Linked DNA regions of Homo sapiens: all the other regions are linked to region 2. The links are contacts of gene promoters, found by promoter capture Hi-C in blood cells and fetal thymus (Javierre and others, 2016). All regions are on one chromosome and are shown on one strand. Each heading gives the region's core, a stretch centred on a gene start or on the middle of the fragment in contact. The rest is flanking DNA. Distances are from core to core; before and after follow the strand shown. Region 1 has its middle 20 kb from the start of NDUFAF4. Region 2 holds the start of UFL1-AS1 (UFL1 antisense RNA 1). Region 3 overlaps GPR63 (G protein-coupled receptor 63). Region 4 overlaps KLHL32 (kelch like family member 32).

Region 1 (2,700 bases), core at 151-2,650, 360 kb after region 2:
TGGGTGTGGTGGCGGGCTCCTGTAATCCCAGCTACTCAGGAGGATGAGGCAGGAGAATCGCTTGAATCCAGGAGGCGGAGGTTGCAGTGAGTTGAGATGGCACCACTGCACTCCAGCCTGGGTGACACAGCAAGACTCCAACTCAAATAAATAAATAAATATCATTTACTGATCAATTTCTCTGTGTTCTATATTAATGAAATACAGAAATATAAAAGACCAATCTACTGTCAAAGAGGGAAACACCAAGATCAAAAACATATACATAGAGTTTTTCCTTTTTTTACGCTGCATAAAATCCTTCTTCCCTCCAGGGGTACCCACAATAGCACTCCCTGGGGCAGCTGTAATTTCCAAAAAGAGATACATGGAGTGGGATGCTGAAAAGTGTCCTGAAACACATGCCCTTGCATTATAAAATGTTAAGAGAAAAAATAAGGCAAAAACTTGAGTCAGTCTGGTGCTTTCCTCTGTAGGGCCTATGAGGATACATGTTTCTTCCCTCATTGAGTCAGATTTTATGATCATAGTGTCCTCAGATACAAGATTCAAATCATTTTCAAGAGCCTAACATCATTATTTTAAAACAAGGCACTGCCATTTTAAGCAAAACAGATTATGTAAATGTCAGTATATTTTAAAACAATCGAATTTCTCTTTAGCTAGGAACCATTCATTCTGTAAGAGTCTTTTTTCAGCATCTAAGGTTGGTATTGTTGTATACTAGAGAAGCCAAAATTCAGTGACCAGTTTTACTTTTCTGCCAAAAAGCCTGATTATTTTTAAACATTCCTGATAGACATTTTGCATCTCTTTTTCTACTCTGAATTTGAGTCGCAGCCTTCTGGCAATATGATGTTTTCAAGCACAGATTCGATATGTATAAGCCATCCGTTTTTCTGAAGATTTATAATCGGTAATTTTAGAAGGATTCCGGCCTTTATCACATCTTAGTTTAATGAAACATCTATGCTAGTATTTTCTAAAGTTCTTTTGGAAACAAAATCTCCTGAAAGAGTTCCAGCCTGTGAAAGTGAAAAACTCATTTAAATAATCAGTTCCGAACAACATTTCTGTTTATGTTAAGAATGCTGCTCTGATATTTAAAGTGGTTTAAGAAATCCAACCAGTGAATATAAAATTAAGCATAATTTTCTCTCCTCTAAGAGAGCACGGAAGCTCCAGAGAAACTGGCAACTCAGAAGATGTGTGGCACCGTGCCCGCTCCAAGGAGTAATGCTGAATGCTTTTGCATTCAGGTTTTGCAAAAACTTCATGCACTTCAGAACCCATGCTTACTAACTGAATTTTCAAGCTTCTCTTTTCCCCTTTCTTGTGGAAGCCCAACTTCCTGTGCCATCATTGAGCATACTGAGGCTCCCTGATCTTTCTCAAAATTCTACTAATAAGCCAAATGTACAATTTCAAACAAAGAAAGCCATTTTCTGGTCCCAAGGCTAGAGCTTTGAAAGTGTGGAAAGTTCAAAAGCTTAAGTTTTTTATTTGACTCCTTTTGGCTCAAATGTTGAATGGTCATTTAATTATTTTTTAAAAATGTATCCTGTTATTTCACGGGGTAAAAAGGGAACTTCATGAGACTCAGGAAGACAATACCCAAGCAAATGCCTGGGCATTAAAGATTGGATACAGAGAAGGATCTTTCAAAACACCTAGGAGAGCTCTTAATTTACTGATGCTCTGGTTTCACTCACCAAGGTACCATTATCTGTGTCTCAAAGGAAGTGCAGGTTAGAGAGCATGTGGGCCCAGGCCTCTTTGATACAGGGATCACCTTCTGTGGGTTGCTCTCCTTCCAGGCTAAAACCCATCATCTTCGAGGGTTGGAGGGTGTGGGCCGTGGTGGATCCTGCGGGGTCAGCTCCTAGGTTAAAATGTAGGCCCACTTTGGGGGATCCAACCTCATCTTTATGGCAGGTTTTCTTACCGTGGAGTAGGAGGTCTCATACCAGCAAGGACAGAAGTTTTGCCTGTTTCTTTCACAGAGGAGTCTAGTAGGGTAACATCAATCTTTTTCAGCTGTTATTCCACATTTTTTAAAACCACAGTCATCTTTTTGCCTTACATCTTTTTGCTTCACCCACATTTGTTGAAAAACTTTAATGGGTGGCCAGTACAGCTATAAATTACTCTGACTCTTAATTCCATTTTCTTCATAAAATTCAACACTGACTCATTATGGTTTGAAATGTTTATTCAGGATTAGTGAGAAATTACAGCTGGTTAGACAGCCAGAGGGCCTTTTTCATTACAATGAGAAATAAACATTGAATTCTGAGAGTAACAAGCCATGTACTGCCTTGAAACAAGCATGGCATGAATCTGATTTCAGCAAACTCTGAAGCCCTTATTCAGGTTAAAGTGAACCAAAAATGTAGCAGCTCAGGGCTGTGTGCAATTTTAGATTGAGTGTCCTCATTATAGGGTAAAAATAGAAATATCTAGGTAATATTACTGTGTTGTTCTGAGGTAAAGCAAGGAAATGAGCCTCTGTGACTTCAGTTTCTTCTGGAATCCTTCTGAGAATAAGATGTTTATTAAGCTAAGTATACAACATGATGAATGAGGAAGGATAAATGATCGGCTAAATTGTATACTACATTGAAAAAAATAAACACGAAGTTGGAATTTTGAAAAAGGAAAATTAGATTGCTGGGAAAGAGAGGAGTTTGAGTCCTGGAG
Region 2 (2,813 bases), core at 74-2,573:
ACCTGTTTTATCGGCAAGGTCTTTATGACTTGTTTTTCCTGCCTGTGGACCTTCTATCTCACTCTGTGACTAACCTCCTGGGAATGCAGCCCAGTAGGTTTCAGCCTTATTTTACCCAGCCCCTATTCAAGATGGAGTTGCTCTAGTTCAAACGCCTCTGACAACTAGTCACCCTGCTGTGCTATCAAATACTTGATATTATTCATTCTTTCTAACTGGAATAATATTTTTTAAATAGTAAAGAGTGAGATACATGAACTCCAAATATCTGAGACAGGTCACAATCAACTCAGAAAGTTTATTTAGCCAAAGTTAAGAACTTGCATCCATGACATGGCACAGATCCTGACAACATGCGCCCAAGGTGGCTGGGGCACAGCTTGGTTTTACACATTTTAGGGAGACATGGGGCAGCAATCAATATATGTAAGATAAACATTGGTCTGATCTGGAAAAGCGGGGCAACTCCAAGTGGGGAGGAAGTTCCAAGTCATAGGTAGATAACAGACAGTTGCATTCTCTTATGAGCCTCTCCAAATGAGGCAATCAGACATGCATTTATCTCAGTGAGCAGAGGGGTGACTTTGAATAGAATGGGAGGCAGGATTCCCTAAGCAGTTCCCAGTATGACTTTTCCCTTTAGCTTAGTGATTTGGGGGTCCCATGATTTATTTTCAATTCATAAGATATAAAAAAGATATAAAAAAGAAAGGTACACCTGAGTAAATATCTACTCAACAGGGAAGCAGGATACATGTTCTCTTTGCTTTCCCTGTTTCCTTGATAGCCATGCACCTTATGTTTATATTCCTCATTATTTGATGAAGTTAATCATTGCAATAAGAGAAATACGAAAGACTCTAGAACTCTAGACACGAAAGCAATTATACAGCCTTTATGACACGCAAATTTATTCACTCTGTAAAAAAAAAGTAATTACTTTCGGTAGGGTCTCCCATGTATCTTCCAAAAGGCAGACTGCTCTGGGTGCATGTAAAAATTAACACGATACCCTATACAAAAGGGAATGCTCAGAGTTAACAGCTAGAGAAGAGAGGCGCCAATCTTAGACACAGGCTTATTCCTCCGCACCCTCCCCCAAAACAAATGGAGGACAGAAGAAAAAAGAAAAGTAGTTAATACAACTATTACTCTACGGAAATATTAGGGGTAGCGCAAACAAAGTTCTGACACTAAACTTTACTGAGCCCTGCATCCTGCCCACGACCCCCCCAGAAACACCTACGCACCACTCTCCTAGCCGCCGCAGCCCCGCCAGTCTCGCCGGGAGGAACCCCCAGCGCCGCGGTACAACCACGGCACTTCCGCCCGCCCCCCGCGCCTCGGGCGCAAGCGTTTGGTGTGTCTGCGTCGGGGGCGGAGCCTCTTGTCCCTCTGCGCGGCCCGTTCCGCCTCTCTTCTCCCACCGCCTGTCGGCTGACGTGTCTGCAGTTCCTCCGCGTCTACTGCGAGTCAGGCCGTGATGGCGGACGCCTGGGAAGAGATTAGGCGGTTGGCGGCCGACTTCCAGCGGGCGCAGTTCGCCGAGGCCACGCAGAGGTGCCCGACCCTCCCTCTCCTTTGTGGAGCCCAAATTAGGCCGTGGGCGGACACGCCTGTATCTGGGACTTTAGACCCGCGGCCCTGCATCCCGGGTCTTCTCGCTGCTTGTCACCATTCTCTCCTCCTCCCTCTGTCCCGAGCCTGGATCGCAGTTCCAAGTCCAAGGCTCGGCGGGAAAGTCCTCAGCCTAGGACGCCCTGGAGCCCCCCAGCCCAGCTGCAGCGAAATGCTGGCGCGCCCCGCCCCACCATGGACGGGGCCGGTGATTTCGAGCTGCCTTTATTGAGCATTTCTTTGACCCTCCCTCACCCACCAACCACCAAATCACTGTGACATCTTGGCTATTATACACTTCCTGATCTAGAATGAGCTCGAAAGGAGAGGCTAACCCCCGCCCCCAGTACAGTACTTGGCAAATAGTATGTTGATCCTTAAAACTTCTTGCCCTTTTATCTCTCGTAACAGACCTAGGGCTAGACCCCTGACCCCATCTGTTATTCAGGGCACTGACATTTTCTACAAGCCCACTAACCTTTGGAGGATGTGTCCAGAGGAGCCTAACTCTGCTTTTTAAAAATAACGCTAATAGAAGCCTTTCTATTCTTTGACTACTTCCTACCTGCGATGTTTTATTCCTTTTGAGCCGGAAGACAGCAATCCCCTTATGCTGTATTTTCTACCACTGATAGCAAACTCGTAACTGCATGGGTAACTAACGTGGGTAAAAGTTATGGTTTCACTAGGCCACATCCCCTGCCTGCTTGCAGACCATGTGTGTAAGTGAGGCAATTATGCACTTAATTTAAAAGAAAATTCTGATTAAACTGGAAATTAGGGCATTTTTTGTTTTGTTTTGTTTTGTTTTTTCTTTTTTCCTACCTAAATAAATGTCTTCAATTTTCCCTTCAGATTTGAAGATTGGAAGCAGGCCTGTAAGAGACAACAGACTTGAAATTTGTGATGGGATGATGTGTACCAATTAAATAAATGATTTAAGCATATGTAAACCTACTTACTCTGAAAGGTTTTTTTTTAACTTATTGAATCAGTTAGTGAAAAATACAGATATTGTGATGTAGAAGTTAGTGACTAAACAAACTTTTTAAAAGCCTGTTTTCATACATTGTATTAATTTTATTGAGCGCCAATGTCTCAAGTGGACTTTTGAAACAACTTTTTTTCTTTCCCTCAGGTTGTCCGAGCGGAACTGCATTGAGATTGTTAATAAATTGATTGCTCAGAAACAGCTA
Region 3 (2,700 bases), core at 117-2,616, 310 kb after region 2:
CTGAGTAGGAACAAGCTGAGAGAACAGACTTTCTGCTAGTGATAGACAGTGTGAAACTTTAGAAGGTATCGTGGTTTATGCAGGGTTAATCAAAATGGAGTAGGAAGACTGTGTGCTTCAAATACAGGGGAAATGGAGTAAGTTACAATGATGAAAAGAATGGATCTTACTACAAAAGCCCACTTACCTGAACATTTTTCCCTCTTGAAGACAATGGATGTTATGCCTACACCCCAACTCCCTTTGTATCCACATCCTCCCAGGATCAACTTGAACAAAAAATCCTGCACCAGACAGCCTCAACCAAATACCATACCAAATACATGGGATAGATTTAATTGATTCTCAAATAATTTTCAGTTGAAACTCTTACTCTGATCTAAACTTCAGGCTTCTTTAAATGCCTACAAATGTTCTCTCTCTAAAGTTACCTACGCATTTGTTTTTGTTTTGTTTTATATTGTATAAAGTAGGAAGATGTAAAGATGCCTCATTTTAGGAGAAAGGTAACAGCTAGAATACAGAATCATGTCCCTTCTGCACCAGCCTCCCCAAGGAAGATCCTTAGAAGTTTCCACAGAAAAGAATTTGCCTAAAATATTTTTCAAATGCTTTAATAACATAGACTGAGCTAAGTCAATTGAGAGAAAGAAGTTAACCAAGAAGCTTTGCTCAAAAACCCTAAAAGGTATGTAAAGCTTATAACTATAATAACACATAAAGGTTTAAATTGAAAATGATGTTAAGAATTTGAAAATGATCTAAGAATCAATTAATATATATGCCAGGTGATTGGTACAGTATCTGGCTGGGGGTTTTTCTAAATTGTATCTGGGAAGATGTAATTCTTTAGCATATCACTCAAAGGAAATGCTGATAATAATAACCCTATTATTAATTTCAATAGGTGACCACTAGATTGCCCCCATACCTGCAAATATACCATCTATTCCCCAAGACCCGAGAGCTGTGTTAAAATCCAACTTTTCTAACTCTTCATTATGTTTATAATGAACATGAATGAGCTTTCCTGTGTATTAAGCTAGAGTTTCACGCTTGAGTTTTCTGAATCTTCTGTCATACAAACAGAAGTGGATACAAATCTTGTCCATATTTACTGGTGCAGAGGCTAGAATGCATTTTATCCTATGTGTCAAACTTAAAGCCTGAAACAGCTTGCTGTCAGCTTCAGAAACCATTTTTACAAGCATGGCATACCGCCTCAAGCCAACCAAATCCTAAAGCATGTTGGGCTGCCCACACTTCAAATCATTTGGAATGTTCTCATGTTTTGTGGTTGCAAAAGTACCAATTTTGTGGATCATCTAGTTCAAATTGAGGGCACATCTAACCTTAAACAGAAAATTCCCCGGAAATTGAAACTATAACTGACCAGGATCACATCAGCTCTTAAGATCTATGATCTCAGGCTGGTAGTCAAACATCTCAAATGTTGTGTTTTGAAAGTTGAAGAAATGCAACATAAACTCTGTGAAACTCATTCATGTGTCTTCAAGGAAACACTAAGAACTCATCCTAAATATACATATGTCATAGTTGCAAAAAAAAAAAGGAAAAAGTGCCACCTGCAACAAAGTAAAGGTGATTTGCAGCAAATATAAACACATTTCTGGTAAACAGCTAGCAAATTAAAGAAAAAAAAACCGCCTAACAGATTACTTCATTTCATTTCTAATTTTCATACATAAGCTGAAATATAGCAGCTTCAGCTGTGAAATGTGGTAACAAACATAACAAAGGTGAATGAAATAGTTTTGCTTGTAGTAACTGGAGCACTGTATTTATACATATTGTTTTTCCAAGCATTAATGGGTCCCTCTCTCAAATCAAGTGCTTAAGACATCATTTCACAAATTGGAGTACCAGAACTTCCCCAAGGTTTGCCTCTCATGCCTTTGAGGTCTACTCTCTAAATCCCAGATCTATGAAGAATGTCCTAAAGGTTATTTTTGAAGTATTAAAAGAAGAAAACACTATATTGACAAACTAAATTTTACCTAGAATTTGCCTATTGAAGCTTAAGAAATGCCTGGTTCAATTATCCATTGGCAGGGTAATTCAATCCATTTGAATAGATAAATGTGGTTAGGATATGGTTCCCTGATCCAAGCCTTGTTAAGAGTTCGAGAACATACTGAAAACCAGTGCTTTTTAACTTAACTGATATTGACTAAAATGCTGAAAAGATGACAAGCCCTAGCAATAACTATTTTTAGCTGATATTTTAGACCTACTGTTCCTGGTGCACATGTATTATTAGGTCCCTAAATGGTTTTCATGTTTTTTATATACTCAATAGCATATACAGATATGGTATATATAGTTATACTATATATAGTATGGATACATAAATATAGATATATGTGTGATATGGATATATACATATACAAATCCACCTCTGTGTGTATCATTTCCAAAATACTCATTCACAAAACAATCAACCCAAATTAAATAAACCATAAACAAAATCTCAAGGTGCTCAAGTAACTCTAGGAACTAAGTCACATCCACTTAGGAACACTAAATTCTTACTTTCTTGCTTGCAGTCCAGCAAACTTAAGGTAAAACAGTAACTACATAGGGGTTTTAGTTATGTTTATTTTTCCTAAGCAAATTTTTCTCCAAGAATGTTCAGCTTGCTGAAATTTTCAGAAAATGCTTGAGATGGTGGGTTCTTTT
Region 4 (2,700 bases), core at 2-2,501, 420 kb after region 2:
TGATGTGATGACCAAAAAACAATCAAGGTAAGACTAGATGTTGTAGTCAACTTCACGTAATCCACGAAAGCCCCTCTTATGCTATCTCTTGAATAAGTGAGCCTGAGAAAGTATCCTCTCAGGAGCCTCTGTGGGGTTCCCTGCTGCACAAGGATCACCTGGGTTGGTGTCACATAGCTGCCTTTTTTCTCTGATTTGTCCTTTACTGATCTCTTCCATCTAAGCAATGAGAAGACCCCCAAGAACAATTTGGAACACTTTCCTCTGACCTCTTACTTTTTCTCTGTTGTGTGTAATTGGGATGAGGGGTCAGGTGCAGGAAGTGGTTGTCCCATAACTTTTTGAGAATCAAATAAATGGTCCAGATCCTTATTCCTATGCAAAATGCATGTATGAATATGGTCTCAGAGAAAGAATGCAGAAAAAGACTGGCATATGTACTGTATATATAGTAACTTAGGTAAGGTCTGTTTATGGAACCCCTTTAGAAACCTCTGTTCTTAACTATCTTGGGCCATGATCTGAAAGAGTTCCCTGAAGCACATGTGTTGCTCTAACATTCTCCTGCTTTACAGCCAGCGGTTACCCCACAGTCACTGTTTGTTAGCTTAGGCTTCACTGCCTTTTGCAGCCCAAGATCTGCTGGCCCCACTTGTCTGGGTCAGTCCAGACTGGTGCTGCCCCTGTACTACTGCTGTCCCCCTCACCATCCTTTCCAGCTACTGCTGCCACCTCGCACCTGCCAGATGCCCAACATGCTTCTTCACCTCAATCTCAGTCCAAAATCTGTGCATCAAGCCATCTGTGCTCAATACCCATTTCCTCCATGAAACCATTCCTGATTAGCTCTACCATGCAATAATTTCCCTTGTTCTAGACATCTTCATCTAATCTGCCATTTAGCTGTGGAGAGTTGCCTTTTGTTGTTCTCTGGTTATCTTATGTGTGTTTTCTTAATTTGAAAGTATATGAATGATAGAAGCTATGTCTTGAAGTGTTAAGGCTGGAAAGGACATTAGCATTGAAATCCTCAATCTTTTATCCCACTTCAGGAAATCAGTAACAGTGACTTGCTACAGCTGTGGGGTGTGTGTGTGTGTGTGTGTGTGTGTGTGTGTGTGTGATTCAGAATATCCCTTCAGGGTCATATTTGATTCTCAAGGAAGAAGAGAGAGGGGAGAAAGCATAGAGAGATTGAAAAAGACTTTCCCCAGGTTATTCTGATGCCACCACCTCCCTTTCTACCTCCATCTCTAGTTTTTTATTGTCCTCATTCTGCAGAGAATCACTCCTTACGGCAGAATGGCTTTCGATCAAGCCTGAGTAATGTGTAGCAACCTGTTCACCTCTCTCTTGCCCACATGCCACAGTTAAAAATTAAATTAAGCATTCAGGGCTAGAGATTTAGAGGAGGGACTGTAGGCTAAAAGAGAAAAGAGAAATGAGATGTATTGTTCATGCTCCCTCTACACACACACACACACACACACACACACACACACTCTGTACATACACACACATATATGCACATACATATACACATATACACATACCAGCATATAGACACATATGCACACACATATATACACATACATACACACACATGCCTATACATACACACATACATTCTAACCACCTATCCTGGGGTAAAGGACTGTGATAGGGCCATTATTCTTTTCCTCAAAATGGATTTGGCTTATGGTAAATGCAGAGTTCATATTCCTCTAGAACCAGCTCTTAAAGGGTTGGTCTCTTGGTGTCATTCACACAAGACCTGTGCGGTAATATGATATTTACTTCTATTTCCAAGAAGAAGTAAAAAAAAAAAAAAAACCTTATACTGTTCTACCAAGGAGATTTCTCACCCACACACAGGCTGACACCTGTTTTACTTATTACTGCTGACCCCCAATGTTGGATAACTTCACATCAGCTGTAAATCCCACAAACTGATTTAATTGGATTCCTCCACATTTTGTATGAGAAAGCAGAAGCCCAGGGAAACAAACTGGCTTGGCCAGTGAAACCCTTAGTAGCAGAGCCGGGACCAGGACCCAGGTCTCCGAGGTCTTGTCTTTACTGGTTGCTCTTCTTTGGCTTTGCGGCCCCTGTAGTGCCTCGCACAAACACATTTCATAAGCCTTCACTGCTTCCTTTTCCAGTTAAACACTTCGAGCTTCCTGCTTTTTTCTTTTGCCATATGCACAGACACTTGCCCCAGCCATCTGGGGAAGGGAAAAGTCATATCTGGCAGGGGAACGAGTGTGCAGATGCATTCTTTTTATAATTACTGAAAAGAAGGTTGTTGGAGGTATGATTTATTTAGCCAGCTTCTTCAGATCTAGATTCAAAAGCTGTTCTCATGTTCAGAAAATATTTTATTTTGTACAAAACTCTCAGGACATTAATTCCTTCTCAACCTGTGGTCTCATTTTTCAGCATGTGCCTCTCACTGAAAGCTAGTTCACCACCAGCATTAATTTGACCCCCAGCTGTATTCGTTCCCTGTCAGTTCTTGTCCTCCAGGCTGTTGCTCATCGTTATATCAAAGATGGGAGCAACTGGAATTAGATGCCTGTGATTATTAAGACGGTAATTACTGATCATGCTGACACCAGTAATATTAACTGGTGTTTAAATAATTTAAAATGTTACCTATGAGGCATGCATGAATTCAAGGTATCAGAATAAAAGGCACTA

Evidence for each region. Contacts are between HindIII fragments. The CHiCAGO score rates a contact against its expected background, and 5 or more counts as called.
Region 1: a fragment that was not itself captured here is called in contact with the fragment with the promoter of UFL1-AS1 in region 2 in 4 of 17 cell types (fetal thymus, naive CD4 T cells, activated CD4 T cells and 1 more); the score reaches 7.3 in fetal thymus.
Region 3: a contact is called between a fragment that was not itself captured here and the fragment with the promoter of UFL1-AS1 in region 2, in 3 of 17 cell types (fetal thymus, non-activated CD4 T cells and activated CD4 T cells). The highest score is 7.0, in fetal thymus.
Region 4: a fragment that was not itself captured here is called in contact with the fragment with the promoter of UFL1-AS1 in region 2 in 3 of 17 cell types (non-activated CD4 T cells, total CD4 T cells and total B cells); the score reaches 7.7 in non-activated CD4 T cells.

The regions. Positions count from the first base shown.
Region 1 is chr6:96,876,131-96,878,830 of GRCh38, forward strand. No RefSeq gene overlaps it. Among named protein-coding and RNA genes, the nearest start is that of NDUFAF4, 20 kb to the right of the region's middle. The HindIII fragment of the contact is 174 bases long and covers 1,314-1,487 here.
Region 2 is chr6:96,520,391-96,523,203 of GRCh38, forward strand. UFL1-AS1 (UFL1 antisense RNA 1) reads right to left here and starts at 1,324. Exons shown (of 4, transcript XR_007059687.1): 1 at 1-1,324. It overlaps UFL1 (UFM1 specific ligase 1), which reads left to right and starts at 1,416. Exons shown (of 19, transcript NM_015323.5): 1 at 1,416-1,560; 2 at 2,756-2,813. The coding sequence starts at 1,484. RefSeq lists enhancers at 1-132, 133-1,004, 1,005-1,876, 1,021-1,210, 1,877-2,748. The HindIII fragment of the contact is 5,811 bases long and covers 1-2,813 here.
Region 3 is chr6:96,833,007-96,835,706 of GRCh38, forward strand. The region is part of intron 1 of GPR63 (G protein-coupled receptor 63); the gene reads right to left. Among named protein-coding and RNA genes, the nearest start is that of GPR63, 3.1 kb to the right of the region's middle. The HindIII fragment of the contact is 1,340 bases long and covers 697-2,036 here.
Region 4 is chr6:96,941,569-96,944,268 of GRCh38, forward strand. All of the region lies in intron 1 of KLHL32 (kelch like family member 32), which reads left to right. Among named protein-coding and RNA genes, the nearest start is that of KLHL32, 18 kb to the left of the region's middle. The HindIII fragment of the contact is 6,637 bases long and covers 1-2,700 here.